Linked DNA regions of Homo sapiens: regions 1, 3, 4 and 5 are each linked to region 2. The links are contacts of gene promoters, found by promoter capture Hi-C in blood cells and fetal thymus (Javierre and others, 2016). All regions are on one chromosome and are shown on one strand. Each heading gives the region's core, a stretch centred on a gene start or on the middle of the fragment in contact. The rest is flanking DNA. Distances are from core to core; before and after follow the strand shown.

The links. Contacts are between HindIII fragments. The CHiCAGO score rates a contact against its expected background, and 5 or more counts as called.
Region 1: a contact is called between a fragment that was not itself captured here and the fragment with the promoter of PTH2 in region 2, in 1 of 17 cell types (naive B cells). The highest score is 5.0, in naive B cells.
Region 3: a contact is called between a fragment that was not itself captured here and the fragment with the promoter of PTH2 in region 2, in 2 of 17 cell types (naive B cells and total B cells). The highest score is 9.9, in naive B cells.
Region 4: a fragment that was not itself captured here is called in contact with the fragment with the promoter of PTH2 in region 2 in 3 of 17 cell types (total B cells, naive B cells and endothelial precursors); the score reaches 10.4 in total B cells.
Region 5: a contact is called between a fragment that was not itself captured here and the fragment with the promoter of PTH2 in region 2, in 2 of 17 cell types (total B cells and naive B cells). The highest score is 10.1, in total B cells.

Annotation. Positions count from the first base shown.
Region 1 is chr19:49,196,708-49,201,653 of GRCh38, forward strand. TRPM4 (transient receptor potential cation channel subfamily M member 4) reads left to right here. Exons shown (of 25, transcript NM_017636.4): 17 at 1-167; 18 at 3,593-3,725; 19 at 3,904-4,078. Among named protein-coding and RNA genes, the nearest start is that of TRPM4, 41 kb to the left of the region's middle. RefSeq lists a silencer at 52-378. The HindIII fragment of the contact is 1,142 bases long and covers 1,360-2,501 here.
Region 2 is chr19:49,420,747-49,425,541 of GRCh38, forward strand. It overlaps PTH2 (parathyroid hormone 2), which reads right to left and starts at 2,695. Exons shown (of 2, transcript NM_178449.4): 1 at 2,466-2,695; 2 at 1,673-1,896. The coding sequence starts at 2,593. The coding sequence ends at 1,722. It overlaps GFY (golgi associated olfactory signaling regulator), which reads left to right and starts at 4,642. Exons shown (of 4, transcript NM_001195256.2): 1 at 4,642-4,743. RefSeq lists a silencer at 2,811-3,014. The HindIII fragment of the contact is 6,183 bases long and covers 1-4,228 here.
Region 3 is chr19:49,288,376-49,293,112 of GRCh38, forward strand. It overlaps SLC6A16 (solute carrier family 6 member 16), which reads right to left. Exons shown (of 12, transcript NM_014037.3): 11 at 2,230-2,392; 12 at 1,263-2,017. The coding sequence ends at 1,748. Among named protein-coding and RNA genes, the nearest start is that of MIR4324, 18 kb to the right of the region's middle. The HindIII fragment of the contact is 6,288 bases long and covers 1-4,597 here.
Region 4 is chr19:49,245,122-49,249,790 of GRCh38, forward strand. All of the region lies in intron 2 of LOC107985340 (a long non-coding RNA gene), which reads left to right. Among named protein-coding and RNA genes, the nearest start is that of MIR4324, 61 kb to the right of the region's middle. The HindIII fragment of the contact is 8,311 bases long and covers 1-4,669 here.
Region 5 is chr19:49,224,510-49,229,532 of GRCh38, forward strand. All of the region lies in intron 1 of LOC107985340 (a long non-coding RNA gene), which reads left to right. Among named protein-coding and RNA genes, the nearest start is that of TRPM4, 69 kb to the left of the region's middle. RefSeq lists an enhancer at 1,570-1,619. The HindIII fragment of the contact is 825 bases long and covers 2,795-3,619 here.

The sequences.
Region 1 (4,946 bases), core at 681-3,180, 220 kb before region 2:
GAGGAACTGCGCCAGGGCCTGAGCGGAGGCGGGGGCAGCCTCGCCAGCGGGGGCCCCGGGCCTGGCCATGCCTCACTGAGCCAGCGCCTGCGCCTCTACCTCGCCGACAGCTGGAACCAGTGCGACCTAGTGGCTCTCACCTGCTTCCTCCTGGGCGTGGGCTGCCGGTGAGTGCCCCGGGGCCTTGGAACCCTGGCCCCTGGCCACCTCTCATCCTTCCTGCCCACTCCCGGGGTCTCCACTCCCGGCTTCCCCGCAGCTGGGCAGCAGGTCAAGCCAACCCTGCTGATTGAGAACCCCTCTTAGGAAAGTCGGGCATGACGATTGCCCCAGGGTAATTGGCTGGCACCTGGAGATCTGGCTTCAGGGACGGCAGGATTCAGGAGAAAACCCCACTGTCCGCCACTCAGCCTCTGCTGCTATTTATTGCTAGGCCTGAAGTTTAACAGATATTTATGGGAGCGCCCCGACCTGGGTGCCAACCTCACCTCCTCCCTTCTCTTCCTCCACATAGCTCGTTGGTCCCAGGCCCCTTGCCCTCCTGCCCCCGACTTTTTCTTTCTTTCCTTTTTTTTTCTTTCTTTCTTTCTCTTTCTTTCTTTTTCTTTCTTTCTTTCTTTCTTTCTTTCTTTCTTTCTTTCTTTCTTTCTTTCTTTCTCTCTCTTTCTTTTCTTTCTTTCTCTTTTCTTTTCCTTTCTTTTCTTTTTCTTTTTCTCTTTTCTTTCTCTCTCTCTCCCTCTGTCCTCTGCCCCTCTGCCTCCCTCCCTCCTTCCTTCCTTCCTTCCTTCCTTCCTTCCTTCCTTCCTTCTATGCTTCCTTCCATCCCTCCAAGCTAAGGGTTTAACCCTTGCCCTGCCTGCATTATGGAGTATCCTGCATTAGGATACTCCTCCTTTTGAGGAGAGCAAACAGAAAAGTTTGTGGATACAACCTGGTGACTGGTTTTTTGTTTGTTTGTTTGTTTTTGTTTTCTTTCTTTTCTTTTTTTTTTTTGAGCCAGAGTTCCGCTGTGTCGCCCAGACTGGAGTGCAGTGGTACGATCTTGGCTCACTGCAACCTCCACCTCCTGGGTTCAAGCGATTCTCTTGCCTCAGCCTCGTGAGTAGCTGGGATTACAGGCATGCACCACTACACCTAGCTAAATTTTTTTTGTATTTTTTTTGTAGAGATGGGGCTTTGCCATATTGACCAGGCTGGTCTTGAACTCTTGGCCTCAAGTGATCCACTGGCCTTAGCCTCTGAAAGTGCTGAGATTACAGATGTGGGTCACCGTGCCTGGCCAACAACCTGGTGACTGTTTACAAGGGACCTGACACATCCTGAATGGTTGACAGTGATGACAGTGATGATCCCTACTCAAGCTTTTCCCAGTAGACACGCTGAGAGGCAGGCTTCCTCTAAGCTATGTTAGCAGTGTTACAAAGTGATTCAACATAAATAATTTATTCAAGCAGGGAGCAAGATATGAGAGTTTTGCAGAACACTAATACTTCTGTTTGTAATTTGTTGTATTTTGTATAAAGTGACTTTTGAGATGAAAGGGCTAAGGCCATATGCTACCATGCTCTAGGATTGCCAGTGATATTTTGGACAGTTTATCAAGCCTACCACTTTCCAGGTGAAAAATGGAAAGATCTCAGCTTAAAAGGGAGAAACGGGCCTGGCGTGGTGGCTCATGCCTGTAATCCCAGCACTTTGGGAGGCCGAGGCGGGTGGATCACCTGAGATCAGGAGTTTGAGACCAGCCTGCCCAACATGGTGAAACCCCATCTCTACTAAAAATACAAAAAATTAGCCGGGCATGGTGGCAGGCGCCTGTAATCCCAGCTACTCGGGAGGCTGAGGCAGGATAATTGCCTGAACCTGGGAGGCGGAGGTTGCAGTGAGCCAAGATCATGCCACTGCACTCTAGCCTGGGTGAAAAGAGCAAAACTCTGTCAAAAAAAAAAAAAAAAAAAAAAGGGAGAAATGTCTAATCATCTCCGGAATTGAATGGATGAATCATCCTTTGTTTCGCCAGTTCCCTCTAGATGGACATTTAGGTTCTCTCTTTCTTTCTTTTTTTGTTTTAAATAGAGACAGGGTCTCACTCTGTTGCCCAGGCTGGTCTCAAACTCCAGGGCTCAAGCAATCCTCCCACCTTGGCCTCTCAAAGTGCTGGGATTACAGGCGTGAGCTACTATGCTCAGCCTTCTGTTTTTTTATTATTCCAAAATAATAAAAGTTTACATCCCAGATGTAAAGTTTATGGGTCAAAGGGTACATTTATTTTTGACATGGATAGATTTCCTTCTAAGTAGCTTCACTCATTTCCACACCTGCCATCAGGGTAAGAGAGTGCCCCCTTGAGGCCATGCTCGACAATGCCTGATACTTTCACTCTAAAATGTAGCTCTCAATTTAACTGAAAAAAAATTTGCCAATTTAATGGGTAAACATGACCTCTCCTTGTTATAATTTATGCACTCTTGACTACCAGATAGGTTGGACATCTTTTCCTAAGCTTAATGGCCATATGTCCTTGTGCCCCCTTGTTTTTTTTTTGGTTTTTGTTTTTGTTTTTGTTTTTGAGACGGAGTCTCGCTCTGTAGCCCAGGCTGGAGTGCAGTGGCGCGATCTCGGCTCACTGCAACCTCCGCCTCCCGGGTTCACGCCATTCTCCTGCCTCAGCCTACTGAGTAGCTGGGACTACAGGTGCCTGCCTCCACGCCCGGCTAATTTTTTGTATTTTGTAGTAGAGACGGGGTTTCACCGTGTTAGCCAAGATGTTCTCGATCTCCTGACCCCGTGATCCGCCCGCCTCGGCCTCCCAAAGTGCTAGGATTACAGGCGTGAGCCACTGCGACCGGCCACCCTCCCGTTTTTTTAATTGGGGTTCATTGATTTGTATATGTATAAATGTATATACTCCTTATACTCTGGATCCTAATCCTCGGTAGTTTTGTTGGTCTTAATATCTTCATATCTTCTCGAAGTCTGTGGCTTGTCTTTTCACTTTCACTTTTGTATGTTTCTTTTCTTTTCTTTTTTTTGAGCCTGCCTCGGCCTCCCAAAGTGCTGGGATTACAGGCGTGAGCCACCGCGTCTGTCCATACACTAGGTTTTTAATCCATCCAAAGTTTAAGTACATGAGGATGCAAAATAGGGGTAGAATTTTTATTTTCCCCATAGGAATTATTGATGTTTACTGGCCGTTTGAACGTCCTCTGTGAATTGTACGTGGTATCCTTTATCTGGCTTCCTTCCTTTTGCGTATTAGTTTGTAAGGACTCTATATGTTTTGCCTTTTATAGGTTGGACAGATATTCCGGCAGTTTTTCCAGCTTGATTCTTACAGGGACCAGCTCTTTGCTAAGGCCATCGTTCATTCAGTCATTACTTAATAGGCGCAGCCATTTTAAAAATGGGTGCCAGGGCCCTGCATGGACCAGCTTGGTACTGAATAAATTTGAGTAAACCCCGGGTGACTGGGAGGGTCCTGGTCCTGCCCGGTGGAGGCTGCAGCTTCCTCTGAAGGATGGCATTGGGAAGACTTCCATTTTCCTTGGCGTCTTGTGACACTTGACCCTTGTGGCATCTCCCCACACCCCAGGCTGACCCCGGGTTTGTACCACCTGGGCCGCACTGTCCTCTGCATCGACTTCATGGTTTTCACGGTGCGGCTGCTTCACATCTTCACGGTCAACAAACAGCTGGGGCCCAAGATCGTCATCGTGAGCAAGATGGTGAGGCAGGGGCGGGGCCAAAGTGGGCGGGGACATAGGGAAAGGGGTGGGGCCAGGGAGGGAGTGGTCCGTGGAGAAGGGGCGTGACTTTGGGGAGCAATGGGGCGTGTTTTTGGGATATAGGGGTGGGGCCAGAGTAGGAAAGGGCGGGGCCAGACTCAGCCACATCTCCCCACAGATGAAGGACGTGTTCTTCTTCCTCTTCTTCCTCGGCGTGTGGCTGGTAGCCTATGGCGTGGCCACGGAGGGGCTCCTGAGGCCACGGGACAGTGACTTCCCAAGTATCCTGCGCCGCGTCTTCTACCGTCCCTACCTGCAGATCTTCGGGCAGATTCCCCAGGAGGACATGGACGGTAGGGGGGATGACGGCCTGACAGCCTTCCTCTGAGTCTCTGTCCCCGCTCCCTGGGTCTCTGTCCTCCTGGCTCTAAGAAAATATCTGTCTCTCTGAGTCTCTGTCTCCCTCTTTCTCTGGATCTCTGAGTGATACCCTATATTCCCCATCATCATCTCTCTGGGTCTCTGCCTACCCCACCCCCTCTGTCTTTCTGTCTGTCTTTCTTTTTTCTTTTTTTTTTTCTTTTTTTTTGAGATGGATGTTAGAAATGTTTATTTTGTGGTGTCGTAAAGAAATAGTACTTGAACATAAATTTAATTTTTTTAGTAAAGCCATTTTTATTTTTTGTAGAAAGGGTACACTCGCCAGCAGTTTTGTCATGAGAGTACACGGAACAAAGGAGATAGGGTCATTTATAACCTGACGCGTCTATTTTACTGCTGTGTCTGGTTTTTATTGGCTGGAACCGGACTTTACATTTTGTATTTGTCTTGATTGGCTAGTAACTTAGAAGTTTTTAAAAGAAGCGAAGGCAGAGGAGAACAAAGGAAGGAGGAAGTAACTTGTGGAATGTTGAGAAAGGTAAAAACACTTTTAAATAAGGAAGAGGAACAGGCTATGATCTAATGCTTGCTTGAACCAGTATAAGTATGTCAGGGCAAATATTTAGGCTAAATTGTGAGAGCTAAGAACATAAAGTACATTGATTTATTTTTTATGGCTAGTAGATATTTAAGAATGTTAGCACAGGTGTTTGAATAAATTTTGTTTCTAAGAGAAGTTACTATTTATTGTTAATTAGATGGGGAGGAAAGTCTTTGAAGAGGAACCTGTACTTTACTTTTTACATGGAGTTTTGCTCTTGTTGCCCAGGCTGGAGTGCA
Region 2 (4,795 bases), core at 1,445-3,944:
CAGGCCAGTACCCAGCTACCAGGCCCGCGGGGAAACAGGAGGAGGCTCTTCATAGGGTCTTTGTGAGGTTAAAAGAGTTAATGCAAGCACAGCACTTAGAAGAGTGCCTGCTATATAGCAACTGCTCATTCACATTTTCATTCCATTTCTCCATGAGAGTGGCGGAAAAGTCTAGACTTTTGAAATTGCACATACCCGGATTCCAGTTATTCTTTTGTCGCTTAGTAGCTCTAACAACTTAGGAAAATTCCTCCTGACTTTCAGTCTTATTTGTAAAATTAGGCCAACTCCAGATAGTTTTGAGGAATGCAGTCTTTCCTTTGTTATTCGGAAGGACAGAGGAAACAGTCCCGCCCCCACAGTCCAAGGGCCAATTAGGGCTCGGTCCGCCTCCCGAAAATGCAAATTTTGGGACGCCTTGCCAAACACGCGCGGCGGCCCCGCTTCCCGCGCAGCAGACGCGGCCGGCTCCACTCTCTTCTTTAAACCAATGAGAGCGCGGTCCGCACGAACGGCGCCCCAGGCGCGCTGATCTAGCCCTCTGCGGACCACCGGGTTGCCATGGTTACCACGAGGGGCGGAGCTGAAGGGCAGGCTGGACCTCCGGGGAGAGAGACAGATTTCGATTGGCTCTTTTCTCGCTTCACCTGCAGCCCAGGTATCTTCCCGCCCTTTCCCTGTCCTTTTTGGAGCCTGACGCCTGCTCCTTTCTCTTCTCCTGCCCCAGCCTGGCGCCCCGAAGGTCTCTAGAGAAGGAGACCCGAAGTCAGAAAACCCTGAAAAAAATTGCTGGACGCTGCTGTGAGAAGAGGAAACCCTTTTCAAATAAAAGCGTTTTGCTACGTAACGGGCGCTGTACTGAAGTCTTATGAAGTATATCTTATTGGATCCTCGTAACAGATGAAGAAAAGGAGACACAGAGACTGACGTCAAGAAGGCTTTCTCAGTACTACGCAGCTAGATTTGGAGGACCCTGGGTTTGGATGCTAGGGCTGCCTCACACCAGAGCCCGCGATCTTTCCACTGTGCCTGGGGAGAAGTCTGGAAGTGATGGGAGGGAGGAACAGCGAAATTCAAAGATGAGAGCTGATGGAGAGACAGATAGAAACCTAACGGAGGAAAGAAAAGGAAGATATGAAGGAGTCAGGCAGAGGAAAAAGGAAAAAAGAAAGTGATGGAGAAGGGAAGGAAGAGTTTCAGAGGCAGAAGGAGAATAGAGAGAGGAGGCAGAGATTCCCAGAAGACCAGAAAGCCAAAAGGGTGAAAGGGGAGATAACCACAAGGACCCAGGGAGACGGGGACACATACCCAGAGAGGAAAGAGACCCAGAGAAAGGGACAGAGACGGAGGAGGACAGAGACCTTGGAGATTACAGAGAACCAGAGAGAAGGGGACAGAGATGGGGGTAGGGAGGGACAGGGGCCCAGAATGAAAGGAGGGGGCGGGGGGGTGGGGGCGATAGGGAAGCAGAGATCCAGAAATAGGAAAGAAGCCAGCTTCCTGGACAAAGACAGGCAGAGAGAAACGGAATTGAGGAAAGAAAATAGAGTGGGGACTGAGGAGAGAGATGCCAGAGTGGCCGACACAGAGTCCTGTCTCTTTTCTACCCCCCATTTCAAGCCCCGCGCCCCCAACCCAACGCACACGCAGGTCGCGCAGGAACTAGGCGCAGTCCGGAGCGCAGGGCATGGTCTTTATTAAGATGGGGACGGGCAGCGCGCTCAGGGCGCATCCAACACCAGCAGCTTGTGCATGTACGAGTTCAGCCAGTGGCGGCGCTCGAGGGCGGCCAGCAACCGCGCGCGCTCCCGGAAGGCCGCGTCGTCCGCCAGCGCCAGGCTCCTCCGCGGCCTGGGGGTGGCGGGATCCGCCCAGGCCCGTCCTGGGGGGCGGAGGCTGTGGAGAGACGCGGTGACCGCGCGTCCAGACTCGCTCTTGCCGCCGCCTGTCCTCCCCGCGGTCTAACTCGAAGCCCCGTTACTGCCCAGTCCGTGGAGTGGCTCGGTCCGGCTCCCCCTGTCTCTCTCGTTCTCTGTGTGGGTCTCTGTCTCTCTGCTCACCAGGTTCGAAACTCCCCAGGTACTGAGACCGAGTCTGATGCACTTGTCCGCCCACAGCGCTCAGCGCATGGCCAGGCGCACACCAAGAACCCAATAAACGTTGCTCAAAGAATGAATCCGTTTCTGCAACGACTCCTTTCGAGCCTCTCCACGCCTTTCTCGGGATCTATCTTTCTGTGTCTCTTTCCCTTGCTGATTTTCTGTCCATTTCCCGCACCACCACTACCACCAAACCCTCCTCCCGCCTTCCCCCACCCCTAGTCTCTGTCTTCTCGCTGGGTCTCGGTCGCCCTCTCTTTGGGCTTCTGTTCCGCTTTCTGGATCTTCCGTCCCCTTTCTCTTTGGTTCTCTTCCCACTTCTCCAAGTTCCCACCCCTCCCTGGGAGTTCTGGGACTGGCACCTACCTGAGGACCCCGACCGGGGGCAGGGCGACTCCCGAGGCAGTGCGGACGCCCCAGGGCACCACCAGCAGCAGCAGCAGCAGCAGCAGCAGCCGAACCCGAGGGCTCCTGGACACCTGGCGGGTCTCCATCACCTGTGGAGAACCAGAAAGGGGCTCAGTAGGGCTGCATCCCGGCCCAGAACCCCGGGCCCCACCATGCATCCACCCCCAGCTTCCCGCACAGTCCCCTACCGTGCAGTGGGCTGGGGCAGCGATGGTGGCAGCCCCCTTATATCGCCTCCGCAGCCCCCGCACCGGGCAGTGACGCAGGCCGGGGGGCCGGGGACGCGGGGTCACCCCCTCCCCAGGCTCATTAGGAGCCGCCAGCGGTAATGAGGAGCCGGGGGTGGGGGACCTGCCGCTGCCTTGGCCGCCACCAACTAATTGGGACCAGAAGCTGGACCTGAGACGAGGGAGGGGGAGAGACAGACAGACAGAGAGGTGGACACAGGGGGTGTGTCAGAGGGCTAAAAATAGAGACTGGCGGAAGGACCGTCAGAGGAACAGAGACACAAAGAGAAGGACAAAGACAGAGTGGCCGAGGAAGAAATAGAGAGAAAGAATGGGAACGACAGAAAAAGAAAGGAAAAGGAAGAAAACAAGAAAAGAGAGCGAAGGAGATGGAAACGAACAGTCAGATGGAGATGGAGGAGGGAAAGAAAAGGCTCTCAGAAAGACAGACGGAAATGGAAGGACGTCCTGGTCTGGAAGGAGCTGCCCAGAGATAAATACAGCAGCGAGAGGCCCAGAAAGATCGAGGGTGAGGTAGGGAGGGGGGAAAGGCAAGAAATGGCAAAGGGTACGTGTGGCAGGGGTGTGAGGACAGGAAAAGTGACAGACCACATCAGAAAAACCTCAGAGAGTGAGAAGAGGGGAAAACAGACAGGGCTCCTGAGCTGCCCTAAGGATGTGTCTAAGCCCTTATCTGGGAGGAGTTTGGGGGTGCTGTGAAGATTAAAGCCCAGTCCTCCTCACACTGACTCTTTTTGTGTGTGTGTGTTTGTCTGTTTGAGATGGAGTCTTGCTCTTGTTGCCCAGGCTGGAGTGCAATGGCACTATCTCGGCTCACTGCAACCTCCACCTCCCAGGTTCAAGCCATTGTCCTGCCTCAGCCTCCCGAGTAGCTGGGATTACAGGTGCCCACCATCACGCCCAGCTAATTTTTGTATTTTTAGTAGAGATAGGGTTTCGCCAAACTGTTGGCCAGGCTGGTCTTGAACTCCTGACCTTGTGATCTGCCCTCCTTGGCCTCCCAGAGTGTTGGGATTACAGGCGTGAGCCAGCACACCCAGTCCACACTGACTCTTAAGAGGGGCCTCAGCCGGGTGCTGTGGCTCATGCCTGTAATCCCAGCACTTTGGAAGGCCGTGGTGGGTGGATCACTTGAGGTCAGGAGTTCGAGACCAGACTGGCCAACATGGCGAAACTCCTTCTCTACAAAAATACATAAATTAGGTGTGGTGTAATCCCAGCTACTTGGGAGGCTGAGGCAGGAAAATCGCTTGAACCTGGGAGAGGGAGGTTGCAGTGAGCTGAGATCGCACCACTGCACTCCAGCCTGGGCAACAGAGTGAGACTCTGTCTCAAAAAAAAAAAAAAATTTAAAAAGAGGGGCCTTTATACACAGTGAGGAGAAGATGGGCAAAACTTGGAAGTCCTACAGAGCAGTAGAAACTTGGGATGTGGGAACTTGGGCTCCTAGTTTCCTAGGAAGGTGGTGGCAGAAGCTTGGACTCCTGAGTCTAAGAGTGGATGGGACAGGGACCCAGATTCCTATGTTCTGGGGAAGGAGGAGGCTGGGGACTTGGATTCCTGAATCTGAGGAAGGAAGGAGCTAGAGGACTGGAGTTCTGAGTCTGGGGGGAGGGAGCTGGGGGATACAACTTAGGGGACTTGAAATAGGAAGGTACCAGGGAACTAGACCCCTGGGTTTTCAGGTAGGAGAGGGTAGAGGGCCAGGACCACTGGTTTCAAAAAAATAATTTGGGCCACATCTCCACTAGATCAATCCAGTTTCTAACTCCCTTCCCCACCCCAGAGAAAATGTCCTTTACTTCTGTCCCTTTAAGAGTCTAAGTCTGTCGCTAGGCTCCCAGGATCCCCTGGGAGGGGGTGAGGTGCGTCACCTGTGTGCCCCTGAGACCCTACCTCCCACCGCCCTGCCCAGATCTGTTCTGCAACATTCACCGTTCTCTGCATCCAGCTCTGCTTATCTGCTGTTACCTTGGACACCAGAGCAGGTAAGAGACCCCAGGACCTCAAGTAAGCCTGTCCCATCGATGTGTCGGCCGC
Region 3 (4,737 bases), core at 204-2,703, 130 kb before region 2:
CCCCTCCCATCACAGGCCCAGAGGCCCAGGAGGAAAAAGTGGTTTTGTGGGCCAGGCCCAGGGTCCCCATGCAGTGTGCAGCCTAGGGACTTGGTGCCCTGTGTCCCAGCCACTCCAGCCATGGCTGAAAGGGGCCAACGTACAGCTCGGGCTGTGGCTTCAGAGAGTAGAAGCCCCAAGCCTTGGCAGCTTCCACGTGATGTTGAGCCTGCGGGTGCACAGAAGTCAAGAATTGAGGTTTGGGAACCTCCGCCTAGATCTCAGAAGATATATGGAAATGCATGGATGTCCAGGCAAAAGTTTTCTGTAGGGGCAGAGCCCTCATGCAGAACCTCTGCCAGGGAGGGAAATGCAGAAGGGAAACGTGGGGTCAGAGCCCTCACACAGAGTCAGAGTCCCTACTGGGGCACTGCCTAGTGGAGCTGTGAGAAGAGGGCCACTGTCCTCCAGACCCCAGAATGGTAGAACCACTGACAGCTTGCACCCTGAGCTTGGAAAAGCCACACTCAACACCAGCCCGTGAAAGCAGCTGGAAGGGGGACTGTACCCTGCAAAGCCACGAGGTGGAGCTGCCTAAGACCATGGGAACCCACCTTTTGCATCAGCATGACCTGGATGTGAGATCTGGAGTCAAAGGAGATCATTATGGAGCTTTAAAATTTGACTCCCCTGCTAGATTTTGGACTTGCATGGGCCCTGTAACCCCTTTGTTTTGGCCAATTTCTCTCATTTGGAATGGCTGTATTTACCTGATACCAGTACCCCCATTGTATCTAGGAAGTAACTAGCTTGTTTTTGATTTTACAGGCTCATAGGTGGAAGGGACTTGCCTTGTCTCAGATGACACTCTGGACTTTTGGATTAATGCTGAAATGAGTTGAGACATTGGGGGACTGTTGGGAAGGCATGATTGCTTTTGAAATGTGAGGACATGAGATTTGGAGGGGCCAGGGGCAGAATGATATGGTTTCACTGTGTCTCCATTTAAATATAAACTTCAATTATATCTCCCAGAATTCCCACGTGTTATGGGAGGGAACCAGGGGAGGTAATTGAATCATGGGGGCTGGTCTTTTCCATCCTAATCTCGTGATAGTGAATAAGTCTCATGAGATCTAATGGGTTTATCAGGGGTTTCCACTTTTGCTTCTTCCTCATTTTTTTCTCTTGCTGCCATCATGTAAGAAATGCCTTTCACCTCCCACCATGATTGAGGCCTCCCCAACCATGTGGAACTGTAAGTCCAGTTAAACCTCTTTTTGTTCCCAGTTTCAGGTATGTCTTTATTAGCAGTGTGAAAATGAACTAATACAGACTGGAAGCCTTGTGACAGGAAAACTGAACATCTGAGACATCTATAGGAAAAAAAGATCTGCTTACATCCAGTCCTTGGAGTTCCAGTAGACTGATTTATTCACCAACAGCATTGCTCCTCCAGCTCCATTCCAGGAGACAGGCACCCCAGAAGTAGCAGGACTGGTAGACATCACTAGTATTGTATATGTGTTGTGCATGTATGTGTGTTGAGGAAGAGGATGGGGAAAACAATGATGGTGGTCACCAGGTAAGATGGGACCCAGGAAGGGATTGCAAGTCCAGGCCCCATGAACACCCCCAAAGAATGCCCCTCCTCTTGGAAATAAAAGTGGTTCTGGATCCAGGGAGATCAACAGTTGCAAGCTGATATTAAGAGTTGTCTATTGGATCTGTTCTAAGGGATATGTTATGTGAAGCCAAATTAATGAAGTTAGGAAGTCACATTACAAGTTGATGGGTACTTTGTTTCATCAACTTGTAGAATTTCTTCCTTTTGAACCTCTTTACTGGGTGTTAGCTGGTGACTTAGGGGTAGGGATGTGGAGGCTGTCATAGGCCCGTCTCCGCTCTTGGGCCTGAAGGGAATCCTATGTATGCGGCAGTATACAAAGTATGCAGGGATGGGGAGGATGACAATGGCAAAAAGGGTGATCATCAAGAGCAGTGCCCACGGTGGGTATGGTCGAAGCACCTCTTTTGACTGTGGAGAGATGGGAAAAGGGTTCAGAATATCAAAATCCCCAAGAGAAAAGGAAGAGTTGTGGAGGGGAAGGATGGGTGGGGAACCAAAGCAGAAAACCCATGAGTCTTCGGGCAGTAAGAGAATGAGATGACTGGGTTCTTTCACCCAGAGTGAATTGAAAGGTCTGGCCCCTACTCCCAAAGGGGTTCTGGGTCCTGGGGGAGGCTCACGGTGCTTGAGTCCCAGGACATGTAGGTGATCGGCTTCATACAAAGATGAACCATCATGGTCACAAAGATGATTAGCAGCACAACTGGACACAGATGGGGCCACAGCCAACCAAAGATGGGAGAGATGGGGTGGCCCAACAGGATCGTCAGGTCTGCAAGGAACCTGGAGAAGGGCCACCAGAGTGTGGGATGCCCAGTTAGGCCTCACCACCTTGGAGGCAGGGCCAGCCCAACCTTGGCATCTTTCAAACATTCTATTGTATCTCTAATCTCCTGTTTCATCTCAAGTCTTGTCCTCTCTCATCTTCCCCCTAGTCAGTCTGTCTTCTATCCTAACCCAAGAAACTTTTCCAAACACCCCTCTCCTGCTCAAGAACTTTCCATGGGTATCCAATGGCCTCAGGAGAAAGGCCAAGTCTCTTTCATTCATCCCATAAATATGAGAATGTCTATGATGTGCCAGGAACTCTTCTAAGTGCTGGATATCCAGCAGTGAACAACACAGATAAAATAAAGTGGCATTTGGCCCTTGGTGAACTTATCTAGTTTATTTCAGCCACCTATCCAGTCTCCTTTAGTACATATTCTCAATCTCAATAAATATACAAGTGGGGTCTTTTGGTCTAGGGTGCCCATCACCCTATCTCCACCTATTCATCTGTCCAGGCTCTGCTCAAGCATCCTCTTCTCTAGGCCACCTTCCCTAACTCTCCAGTCTTCCTTAACTAACCATCTATGCCCCCGGAGTTTCCCTGGCTACCTCTACTATAGACTTACCACCGGGTACTGGGATTTTCTGCTTATATACGTCTTTCTCTTTGGACTCTGAGCTCTTTGAGAAGAGTATCTCAATGTAAGTCATTCATATCCCAGTACCACAAGGCTTTCCTGACACAAAGTCTCAAGAAAATGTTTGTTGGGTGAGTTAATAAATGAGTCCATAAGTGAGCAAACTGACTCCAAGAACCACTATCAGATGAAAATGCTGAGGCTTTCACCCCTGAATTATACCAGGAACTCTTCTAAGTGCTGGATATCCAGCACTGAACACAGATAAAAGAAAGTGGCATTTGGCCCTTGGGAAACTTATCTAGTTTATTTCAGCCAACTATCCAGTCTCCTTTAGTACATATTCTCAATCTCAATAAATATACAAGTGGGGTCTCTTGGTCTAGGGTGCCCATCACCCTATCTCCACCTATTCATCTGTCCAGGCTCTGCTCAAGCATCCTCTCCTCTAGGCCACCTTCCCCAACTCTCCAGTCTTCCTTAACTAACCATCTGTGCCCCCGGAGTTGCCCTGGCTACCTCTACTATAGACTTACATTCCACAGCTATATCTTCCAGGTCTCACTCCCAGATTATCTTGTTCTCTTTCCCAGGTAGCTCTACCTTCCAGAATCAGACCACTTCTCTTAATCCACAACTCTTCTACTTTTGACCAAGCCATTCTTAGCTCTCACTTGAAATATTACATAGCTTTCACCAGGCGGGGTGGCTCACGCATGTAATCCTAGCACTTTGGGAGGCTGAGGCAGGTGATCACGAGGTCAAGAGTTCGAGACCAGCCTGGCCAACATGGTGAAACCCCGTCTCTACTAAGAATACAAAAATTAGCCGGGCGTGGTGGTGAATGCCTGTAATCCCAGCTACTCAGAAGGCTGAGGGAGGAGAATTGCTTGAACCCGGGAGGCGGAGGTTGCAGTGAGCTGAGATCGCACCACTGCACTCCAGCCTGGGCAACAGAGCAAGACTCCATCTCAAAAAGAAAGAAAAAAAGAAATATTACATAGCTTCCAACTCTTATCCTGGCTTCACTCTTGACTCTTCCTGGTCTGTTCTCCAGACAGCAGCCATAAATACCTTTTTAAAAAACAAATCTAATAATGGCACTCCCACCTGAAAATGTCATTCTCCTACTCAAAACCCTCCAATGCTTCATCTGCCATTCTGCATACAAAGCTGAGTCCTATCGTGGCTTACAAAACCCTACATGACTTGGCCACCATCACTTCTCTAGCCCCATCTCCTAATATCTTCTATTCCAGCCTCTCTGACTTCCTTGTTTCTCAAAAACTCTAGGCATTATGCTTCCTCTGGCCTTGGTAATTTCTGTTTCCCTGCAGGGAGCACTTTACTCAAAATCTTGTCATGACTCCCTCCCTCCTATCATTCAGGAGTCTGCTCACATGTCACCTTATCGGAAGGGCCCTCCCTGAAGTCGTATGTGACTTGGTGCCCACACACACTCCCACTATGTGCCATCTGACCTCATCCTTTGATTCTTCCTATCGCCTGTATTTATTCTCAACGTTTTTATTCTTTATTTGCTAATCTGGTTATTGTCTCTCTAGACCACTAAAATGTAAGCTTTCTGAGAATAGGAATACTTCTTTTATTCAATGCCCCTATCCCTGATGACTAAAATAGTGCCTGGCACATATTCAGCACCCAAAATATATGTGAAAATGGATGAATGAATAAAAAGATTTCCCAGAAGACTCTGAA
Region 4 (4,669 bases), core at 1,293-3,792, 180 kb before region 2:
AGCCATCTCAGTCAAAACATGGCAAAACCCCATCTCTACTAAAAATTTAAAAATACCCTGGCTCATTTTGCATTTTTAGTAGAGACGAGGTTTCACCATGTAGGTCAGGCTGGCCTTAAACTCCTGACCTCAGGTGATCCGCCTGCCTCGGCCCTCCCAAAGTGCTGGGATTACAGGTGTGAGCCACCGCACCTGGCCCCCATTGCAGTTTGAGAGGCTTTATATAATAAAGGGCAGAGCACTCAGGAGGCTGCTCCTCTAGGGCTGCAATGGTCCAGCATGATAGCTATTAGGCACACGTGGCTATTTTTCCTTTTTTTTTTTTTTTTTGGAGACAGAGTCTTGCTCTGTCACCCAGCCTGGAGTGCGGTGGCACGATCTCGGCTCACTGCAAGGTCCCGGGTTCACGCCATTCTCCTGCCTCAGCCTCCCGAGTAGCTGGGACTACAGGCACCCGCCACCACACCCGGCTCATTTTTTTGTATTTTTAGTAGAGACGGGGTTTCACTGTGTTAGCCAGGATGGTCTCGATCTCCTGACCCCGTGATCCGCCTGCCTCGGCCTCCCAAAGTGCTGGGATTACAGACATGAGCCAGCGTGCCTGGCCCCGGCTATTTTTTTTTTTCCTTTAGACAGTCTTGCTCTGTCACCCAGGCTGGAGTGCAGGGGCGTGATGACAGCTCACTGCAGCCTTGGCCTCCCGGGCCCAAGCGATCCTCACGCCCAGCATCTTGAGTAGCTGGGACCACAGGCATGTGCCACCATGACCAGCTAATTTTTTTTTTTTTTTTGTAGAGACACGGTCTCCTTATGTTGCCCAGACTAGTCTCAAACCCCTGAGCTCAAGCGATCTTCCTGTCTTGGCCTCCCAACGTGTTGGGATTACAGGCGTGAGCCACCACACCTGGCCAAAACTCAGTTTTTATTGAGCTATAATTTACAGACAACAAGCACAGATACTAAATGTATACTTTAATGAGTTTTGACAAATGACCCCTGTCACCAATGCCCCAATTTCCGTCACTCCAGAGAGTTACTTTGGGTTCCTTTCTCTTCACCCCAGAAGCAATGACTGATTTCCATCACTACATATAAGTCTGACCTGTTCTTGGGTTTCATAGATAATAGATTCACACAATACATAGACATTTGTGTCTGGCCTGTTACATTTAATATAGAACATCTTTGCTAAGCCCGAGGTCATAAAGATATTCTATGTTTTCTTCCGGAAGTTTCTAGTTTTGGCTTTTGAATTTAGGTCTTTGGTTCCTGTTAATTTGGGGTGGGGGTATGGTATGTGGCAGGAATATGTTTATATTTTTCTATATGGCTATACAGTAGTTCTAGCCCTGTTTGTTAAAAAGACTTTCCCTTACCCATTGAATTGCTGTGATATCTTTACTGAACATCAATTGGTCATATGTGTATAGGTGGATTTCTGTTCTGTTCTATTGATCTTTTGGTTTATCTTTAGGCTAATATAACACTGCCCTGACTACTGTAGCTTTATAGTAAATCTTGAAATTCGATAGTATGAGTCTCCAACGTGTTCTTTCTCAAGATTGTTTGGACTACTTTAGGTCTTTTGCATTTTTTTTTTTTTTTTTTTTTTGAGATGGAGTCTTGCTCCATTGCCCAGGCTGGAGTGCAGTGGTGTGATCTCAGGTCATTGCAACCTCCCTGCCTACTGAGTTCAAGCAATTCTCCTGCCTCAGCCTCCTAAGTGAAATTACAGGCACCCGATACCACGCCTGGCTAATTATTTTTTAGTAGAGATGGGGTTTCCTCATGTTGGCCAGGCTGGTCTCAAACTCCTGACCTCAGGTGATCCTCCTGCCTTGGCCTCCCAAAGTGCTGGGATGACCGGCATAAGCCACTACACCCGGCCGGTCCTTTGCATTTTCATGTACATTTTAGAATCAGCTTGTCAATTCCTCAACAAACCTGGCTGAGATCTGAATTGCCATTGTGTTGAATCTGTAGATCAATTTGGGGAGAACTGATATCTTGTTTTTTGAGACAGAGTCTTACTCTGTTACCCATGCAGGAGTGCAGTGGTGCGATCTCGGCTCACTGCAGCCTCTGCCTCGCAGGCTCAAGCGATTCTCCTACCTCAGCCTCCTGAGTAGCTGGGATTACAGGTGTGTACCACCATGCCCAGCTAATTTTTTTGTATTTTTAGTAGAGACAGGGTTTCACCATGTTGGCCAGGCTGGTCTCAAACTGCTGAGCTCAAGTAATCCACCCACCTCGGCCTCCCGAAGTGCTGGGATTACAGGCGTGAGCCACCACGCCCGGCCTACACCAATTCTTTGAATTCATAAACAAATATTTCCATTTATTTAGGTTTTTCTCTCAAAAATACCTTGTAGTTTTCAGTATAGAGATTTTTGAATATCTTTTGTTAAATATAGTCTTAGCATTTGATTTTTGAGGCTATTGTAAATGGTTTTGTTTTTAAAATTTCACTTAACTATGGTTTGTTGCTAGTATGCAGAAATGTGATTATTTTTGTATATTGGCTTTTATTTTTGTGACTTTCCTAAGTGCACTTATTCTAGTAGCTTTTTATTTTTGTAGATTCCCTAGGATTTCCTAATTACATGCTTATGACATCTGTGAATAAAGACAGTTTTACTTCTTCCTAGCCAGTTTCTATGCTTTTTATATCTTTTTCTTGCCTTCTTTCACTGGCTAGGAACTTCACTATAGTGTTGAACAGAAGTGGTGTAAAGGGATTTCCCTTCCCTGTTTTCAGTATTGGGGAAAGTATTCAGTATTTCATCATTTAGTATGATGTTAGCTGTAGCTTTTGTCATTGTTGTTAATATCCTTAACACAATGAATGATTCTCAACCGAGGGTGATTTCCCACCTCTTCCAGGGACATTTGGTAATGTCATATGACTTTTTTTTTTTTTTTTTTTTTTTTTTTTTTGAGACTGAGTCTCGCTCTATCACTCAGGCTGGAGTGCAGTGGCGTGATCTCGGCTCACTGCAAACTCCGCCTCCCGGGTTCACGCCATTCTCCTGCCTCAGCCTCCTGAGTAGCTGGGACTACAGGCGCCCGCCACCACGCCTGGCTAATTTTTTGTATTTTTAGTAGAGACAGGGTTTCACCATGTTAGCCAGGATGGTCTCGATCTCCTGACCTCATGATCCGCCCACCTCGGCCTCCCAAAGTGCTGGTATTACAGGCGTGAGCCACTGCACTTGGCCTGTCATGTGACATTTTTCATTGTCACAAACAGCTGAGTGGGGAGCGTTGATGCTGGCATCTTGAGGGTGAAGGCTAGGAACACTGCCAAGCATTCTAGGATGCACAGCACAGCCTCTCCCCACCCCAGCAAAGAATTTTCTGGGCAAAATCCCCATCATGTTCAGGTAGAGAATCTCTGCCCAGCACATGGAGGAAGTTCTGTTGTATTTCTAGTTTGTTGCAGGTTTTTTTTCCTCCAATAATAGGTGTTGAATTTTGTCAAATGGTTCTTCCCTTTAATCTATTAATGTAATAAGTTACATTAATTTCTGGGATAAAACCACTTGCTTATACTGTATCCACTTTGTTTGTGGATTAAATTTGCTAATATACTTTGAGACAGTCTCTCGTTCTGTCGCCCAGGCTGGAGGGCGTGATCTTAGCTCACTGCAACCTCCGCCTCCTGGGTTCAAGCTATTCTCCTGCCTCAGCCTCCCGAGTAGCTGGGATTATAGGCGCCTGCCACCACGCCCGGCTAATTTTTATATTTTTAGTAGAGATGGGGTTTCATCATGTTAGCCAGGCTGGTCTCAAACTCCTGACCTGAAGTGATCCACCCACCTCCCAAAGTGCTGTGATTACAGGCACAAGCCACTGCGCCTGGCCAAATTTAACTTTTAAACTCAGAAATGGGGCTATTTAGATTTTCTACTTGCATCAGTCTTTGTAATTTGTACCTTGCAAGGTGTTTAAGTTGAACTTATAGGTATAATTTTGATCATAATATTCCATTATTATTTTGATGTCATCAAGATCTATGATGGTGCTCCTTTTGTTTTAGAGTCTCTGTTGTGCAGGCTGGGTCACCGCAGCCTCCACCTCCTGGCTTCAAGCGATTCTCTTGCCTCAGCCTCCTGAGTAGCTGGGATTACAGGCACATGCCACCACACCTAGCTAATTTTTATATTTTTAGTAGAGATGAGATTTTGCCATGTTGGCCAGGTGGGTCTCAAACTCCTGACCTCAAGTGATCCGCCTGCCTCATTCTCCCAAAGTGCTGGGATTACAGGTGTGCGCCACTGTGCCTGGCCAATTCCCTGTATTTTAAATGTTTTTTTTTTTTCTATCTTTTCCACCAGCTACTGAAAAGAAAGTGTTATCCAACTATGATTATGAATTTATGTGTTTCTTGCTGGAGTTCTGAAAATTTTTATCTATTTTGAAACTGTTATGAGCTGCATAAACATTTATATAATTCTGGCTTCCTGCTGAATTGGCTCATTTATCATTATGAAATCCTCTTCCTAATCTGTAGTGTTACTTGCTTGACTTCGATGTTAATGTTACCACACTAGCTTTCTCATTGGTTTGCATGGTATGTTTTTCCATTCCTTTTTTTTTTTTTTTTTGAGACGGAGTTTCGCTCTTGTTGCCCAGGCTGGAGTGCAGTGGCACGATCTTGGCTGACTAC
Region 5 (5,023 bases), core at 1,957-4,456, 200 kb before region 2:
CCATGTTGGTCAGTCAGGTCTTGAACTCCTGACCTCAAGTGATCCGCCCGCCTCGGCCTCCCAAAGTGCTGGAACTACAGGTGTGAGCCACCGCGCCCGACCAACAATGAGTTTTTTTCCCCTGCCTTTGCTGTCCCCCTGGGATGCCCCCCAGCCCCAAGTTGCTCCAGGGCTGAGGCTGTAGTCCCTGACCCACAGACTTCTTGGTCCAAGTACCTGAATTCAACCAGTCAGGCTCCCAGTGGGAAGGGAAGCTGAAGAGATCTCGTTGGGTGTGGCACCTAGAGCCAATTCAATGTCCCGCTGTGTGGTTTCCACGACTGAGCGGGTGTAATTGGTACTGATGCTTTACATGCTCGAAAAAACTACACATGCCTTGTTATCAGAGGATTCTACCAGTCGGAGGCTGTGGCATATGCCGCCCTCTTCACCTCTACCAGAAACAATGTGGGATCCCAGTAGAAAAGGAAACACAACTGTAATGACTAAATGGCTGCTGGAGTGCTCCGGGAAGCCGTTTCCCAGTGCCACAGTGCCACCTGCCTGACACGGCCACCAAGTACACTCCTTTTAAAAAGAAAGGGCAGCTGGGCTGGGTGCGGTGGCTCACACCAAGAGGTGGGTGGATTGCTTGAGTCCAGGAGTTCAAGACCAGCCTGGGCGACATAGTGAAAACCCATCTCTGTTTTTTTTAAATTAAAATTTTATTTATTTATTTTGAGACAGAGTCTTGCTCTGTGACCAGGCTGGAGTGCAGTGGTACGATCTCGGTTCACTGCAACCTCCACCTCTGGGGTTCAAGCGATTCTCCTGCCTCAGCCTCCCCAGTAGCTGGGATTACAGGCACCTGCCACCATGCCCAGATAACTTTTGTATTGTTAGTAGAGACTGGGTTTCACCATGTTGGTCAGGATGGTCTTGATCTCTTGACCTTGGGATCTACCCACCTCTGCCTCACAAAGTGCTGGGATTACAGGCGTGAGCCACCGTGCCCGGCCCTGTCTCTCTTCTAATAAATAATAAAAAAAGAAAAGAAGGCCGCTATGAATCACTATTAAGCTCTCCTTGAAAGCAAACGCCTGGCTTGTGGTGGCCTTTGACTCCCCAGCCTCACACCCTTGTTCTCGGGTAGGTTAACTGCAGCTTCACTAGCAATACCGGAAATGGCCAAAGGTAAAGGGTACGTCTAAGAGCACAGCTGGTCTGGTCCTCAGGTCTTCTGAGTTTTACATACAAAAGTCACAGCTACCCCTGTTTCTTCTGTTTTCTGTTTCGAGACGGTCTTGCTGTGTTGCCCAGGCTGGAGTGCAGTGGCATGATCGTGGCTCACTGCAGCCTGGAACTCCTGGGCTCAAGCGATCCTCCCACCTCAACCTCCTGAGTAGCTGGGACTATAGGCATGCGCCAGCATACCCGGTTAATTTTTTAATTTTTTTTTTTTCCAGAGACAGAGTCTCGCTGTGTTGCCCATGCTGGTCTTGAACTCCTGGGCTCAAGCAATCCTCCTGCCACGGCCTCCCAAAGTGCTGGAATTACAAGTGTGAGCCGCCGCACCCCGCAGCAGCTACCCCATTTGGAGAAAACTCTCCTCCACTCCCCTGCCTGAGGCAATTCCTCTGGCTCAATGGGGCCCTCAATTCAAACGGGTTCCCTTAAACGGCTGGGCGCATTCCACTATGTTAAACCTAAAGATGTCCACTAGGGGGCAGCAACCACCTAACCCCAACACCAACTCCGGAAGACATTGATTGCAGTTTGGTTGATATTTAAGGTATTCAATGGGACTTTGTAACTTCCTCACTATCTGCGGGTGTCTGGTATTATTGATTGTTGGATCATCTTCCTCAAGAATCAGCTCAAAAAGGTTTCTGGTTTCCCCTTCCTACCTCTTCCTGATCCACACACTTTATTTATTTATTTTTTGAGACAGATGCTCTGTTGCTCAGGCTGGAGTGCAGTGGTGCCATCTCGGCTCACTGTAACCTCTGCCTCCTGGGTTCAAGCGATTCTCCTGCCTCAGCCTCCCAAGTAGCTGGGATTATAGGCGTCACCATGCCTAGGTGATTTTTGTATTTTTAGTAGAGATAGGTTTCACCATGTTGGCCAGCTGGTCTCGAACCCCTGACCTCAAGTGATCCACCCGTCTTGGCCTCCCAAAGTGGGGGGATCACAGGCGTGAGCCACCACACCCGGCCGCACACACTTTACTCAGGCCGTTTGGTCACTGAATGTGGCAGTCCCAGAAGAGGCTTCATCTCTTCTTGGCTGCATCTTGGATAGTCCCTGAGACAGAAGTGTTGGAGGAGTTACAGAGACCCGAGGTCAGGAGATCGAGACCATCCTGGCTAACATGGTGAAACCCCGTCTCTACTAAAAATACAAAAAATTAGCCGGGCTTGGTGGCGGGCGCCTGTAGTCCCAGCTACTCAGGAGGCTGAGGCAGGAGAATGGCATGAACCCGGGAGGCGGAGCTTGCAGTGAGCCGAGATCACACCACTGCACTCCAGCCTGGGTGACAGAGCAAGACTCCGTCTCAAAAAAAAAGTACAATTTTGCCCGCTGACCATTGTTGGGAATGATGCATCTTTCTTTCCGCTGGACAGCCTGGTGGTCATGCCCTCCAGATGGCAGTTGAGTCCTGAGGGGGCCAAGTAGGGGATTCAAACTAATGCTGGTTTAGGCACCAGAATCCCCTTGTTGGACCGACATGGTGCTAGATCAGGAGTTGGCACACTATAGCCTGTGGGATACATCTGGCCTGTGACCTGTTTCTGTGTGGTCTATAAACTAACAAAGCTTTTCATATATTTTAAAGAATGTGTTGTTGTTGTTGTTGTTGTTGTTGTTTTTGAGATGGAATCTCGCTTTGTCGCCCAGGCTGGAGAGCAGTGGTATGATCTTGGCTCACTGCAAGCTCCGCCTCCTGGGTTCACGCCATTCTCCTGCCTCAGCTTCCCGAGTAGCTGGGATTAAAGGTGCCCGCCACCATGCCCGGCTAATTTTTGTATTTTTAGTAGAGACGGGGTTTCTCCATGTTGGCCGTCCTGGTCTTGAACTCCTGACCTCAAGTGATCCACCTGCTTCAGCCTCCCAAAGTGCTGGAATTACAGGCGTGAGCCACGGCTCAGCCAAGAATTGTTTAAAAAAAAAAAAAAAAAAAAAAAGCCAGGTGTGGTGGCTCACCTCTGTAATCCTAGCACTTGGGGAGGCTGAAGCAGAAGGATCACTTGAGCCCAGGAGATCAAGACTAGCCTGGGCTATGTGGTGAAAGCCTGTCTCTACAAAAAATTAAAAATTAGCTGGGTGTGCTGGTGCACGCCTGTAGTCCCAGCTACTCGGGAGGCTGAGGTGGGAGGATCGCTTGAGCCTGGGAGGTCGAAGCTGCAGTGAGATATTATTGTACCACAGCTCTCCAGCCTCAGTGACAGAGCAAGATCTTGTTTCAAAAAGAAAAAAGAAAAAGATGACTATGCCACAGAAAACAAATGCCCTACAAAACCCAAAATACTATTACCTGGTTCTTTCCAGAAAAAGTTGGCTCACTCCTGTGTTAGTTGAAACAACCTGCTGATATTACTTATGTGGCTTAACTGAGACAATGTAACGGTAATTCCAGCCAAGCTTAACAACAAAATCCAATGACTGTCTCTTCTCAGGTTGGGGAGGTAAGCTGTGGCATGCCCATTGTGGATGGGGGTTGCTTTTAGGCTCATCTGTTGTCACCCTGTAATTGTTTGTAAAGACATCAAAGATCAGATCAGTTTTTTTATTTTTAAATTTCTTTTTTTGGTATTTTAGCAGATCAGCCTAAAGTTCTCTGCTCTGCTTATAATGGACAATAGAGTCGCCTTAGACTATATCCTGGTTGTCCAAAATAAGATGTACTGGTCCTCTGGGACCAGTTTTTACTTTTTTTTTTTCTGAGATGGAGTTTCACTCTTGTTGCCCAGGCTGGAGTGTAATGGCATGATCTCAGCTCGTTGCAACCTCTGCCTCCCGGGTTCAAGCGATTCTTCTGCCTCAGCCTCCCAAGTAGCTGCGATTACAGGCATGTGGCACCATGCCCGGCTAATTTTGTATTTTTAGTAGAGACGTGGTTTCTCCATGTTGATCAGGCTGGTCTTGAACTCCTGACCTGAGGTGATTCCCCCTCCTCGGCCTCCCAAAGTACTGGGATTACAGACGTGAGCCACCACACCTGGACTTTTATTTTTTTTTTATTTTAATTTTATTGTATTAGAGACAGGGTCTTGCTCTGTCACCTAGGCTGGAGTACAGTGGCGTGATCTTGGCTCACTGCAACCTCAACCTTCTGGGTTCAGGGGATCCTCCCGCCTCAGCCTCCCAAGTAGCTAGGATTACAGGTGTGCCACCACTTCTGGCTAATATTGTTTTTGTATTTTTTGTAGAGATGGGCCTTCACTACGTTGCCCAGGCTGATCTTGAACTCCTAAGATTAAATGATCTGCCGGTCTCAGCCTCCCAAACTGCAGGGATTACAGGCATGAGCCACCTTGAGACTTATTCACAGTTGGCTGAGTCTAGGACCCTGGGGGACATAGTTGAGAGTTGAGGTCAATACTCAAGGTTGGCCTGATCTTGCTGTTGGGAGTCCCATCAAAAGTAGCCTTAATTAAAGGCCGAATGAGACAAATTGAAGTGATTTTTTTTTTTTTTTTTGAGATGGAGTCTCTGTGGCCCAGGCTGGAGTGCAATGGCACAATCTTGGCTCATTGCAACCTCTGCCTCCCAGGTTTAAGCGATTCTTCTGCCTCAGCCTCCCAAGTAGCTGGGATTACAGGCACCTACCACGACACCTGGCTGTTTTTTTGTATTTTTAGTAGAGAAAGAGTTGCCCCATGTTGGCCAGGCTAGTTTCAAACTCCTGACCTCAAGTGATTTCAGCCTCCCAAAGTGCTGGGATTACAGGTGTGAGCCACCATGCCTGGCCTGAAGTGATTTTATTCCAGCCTGTTAGTTAGATGAATCAGAGTGGCTGATGGGTGTCAGAGTCATTTGAAAA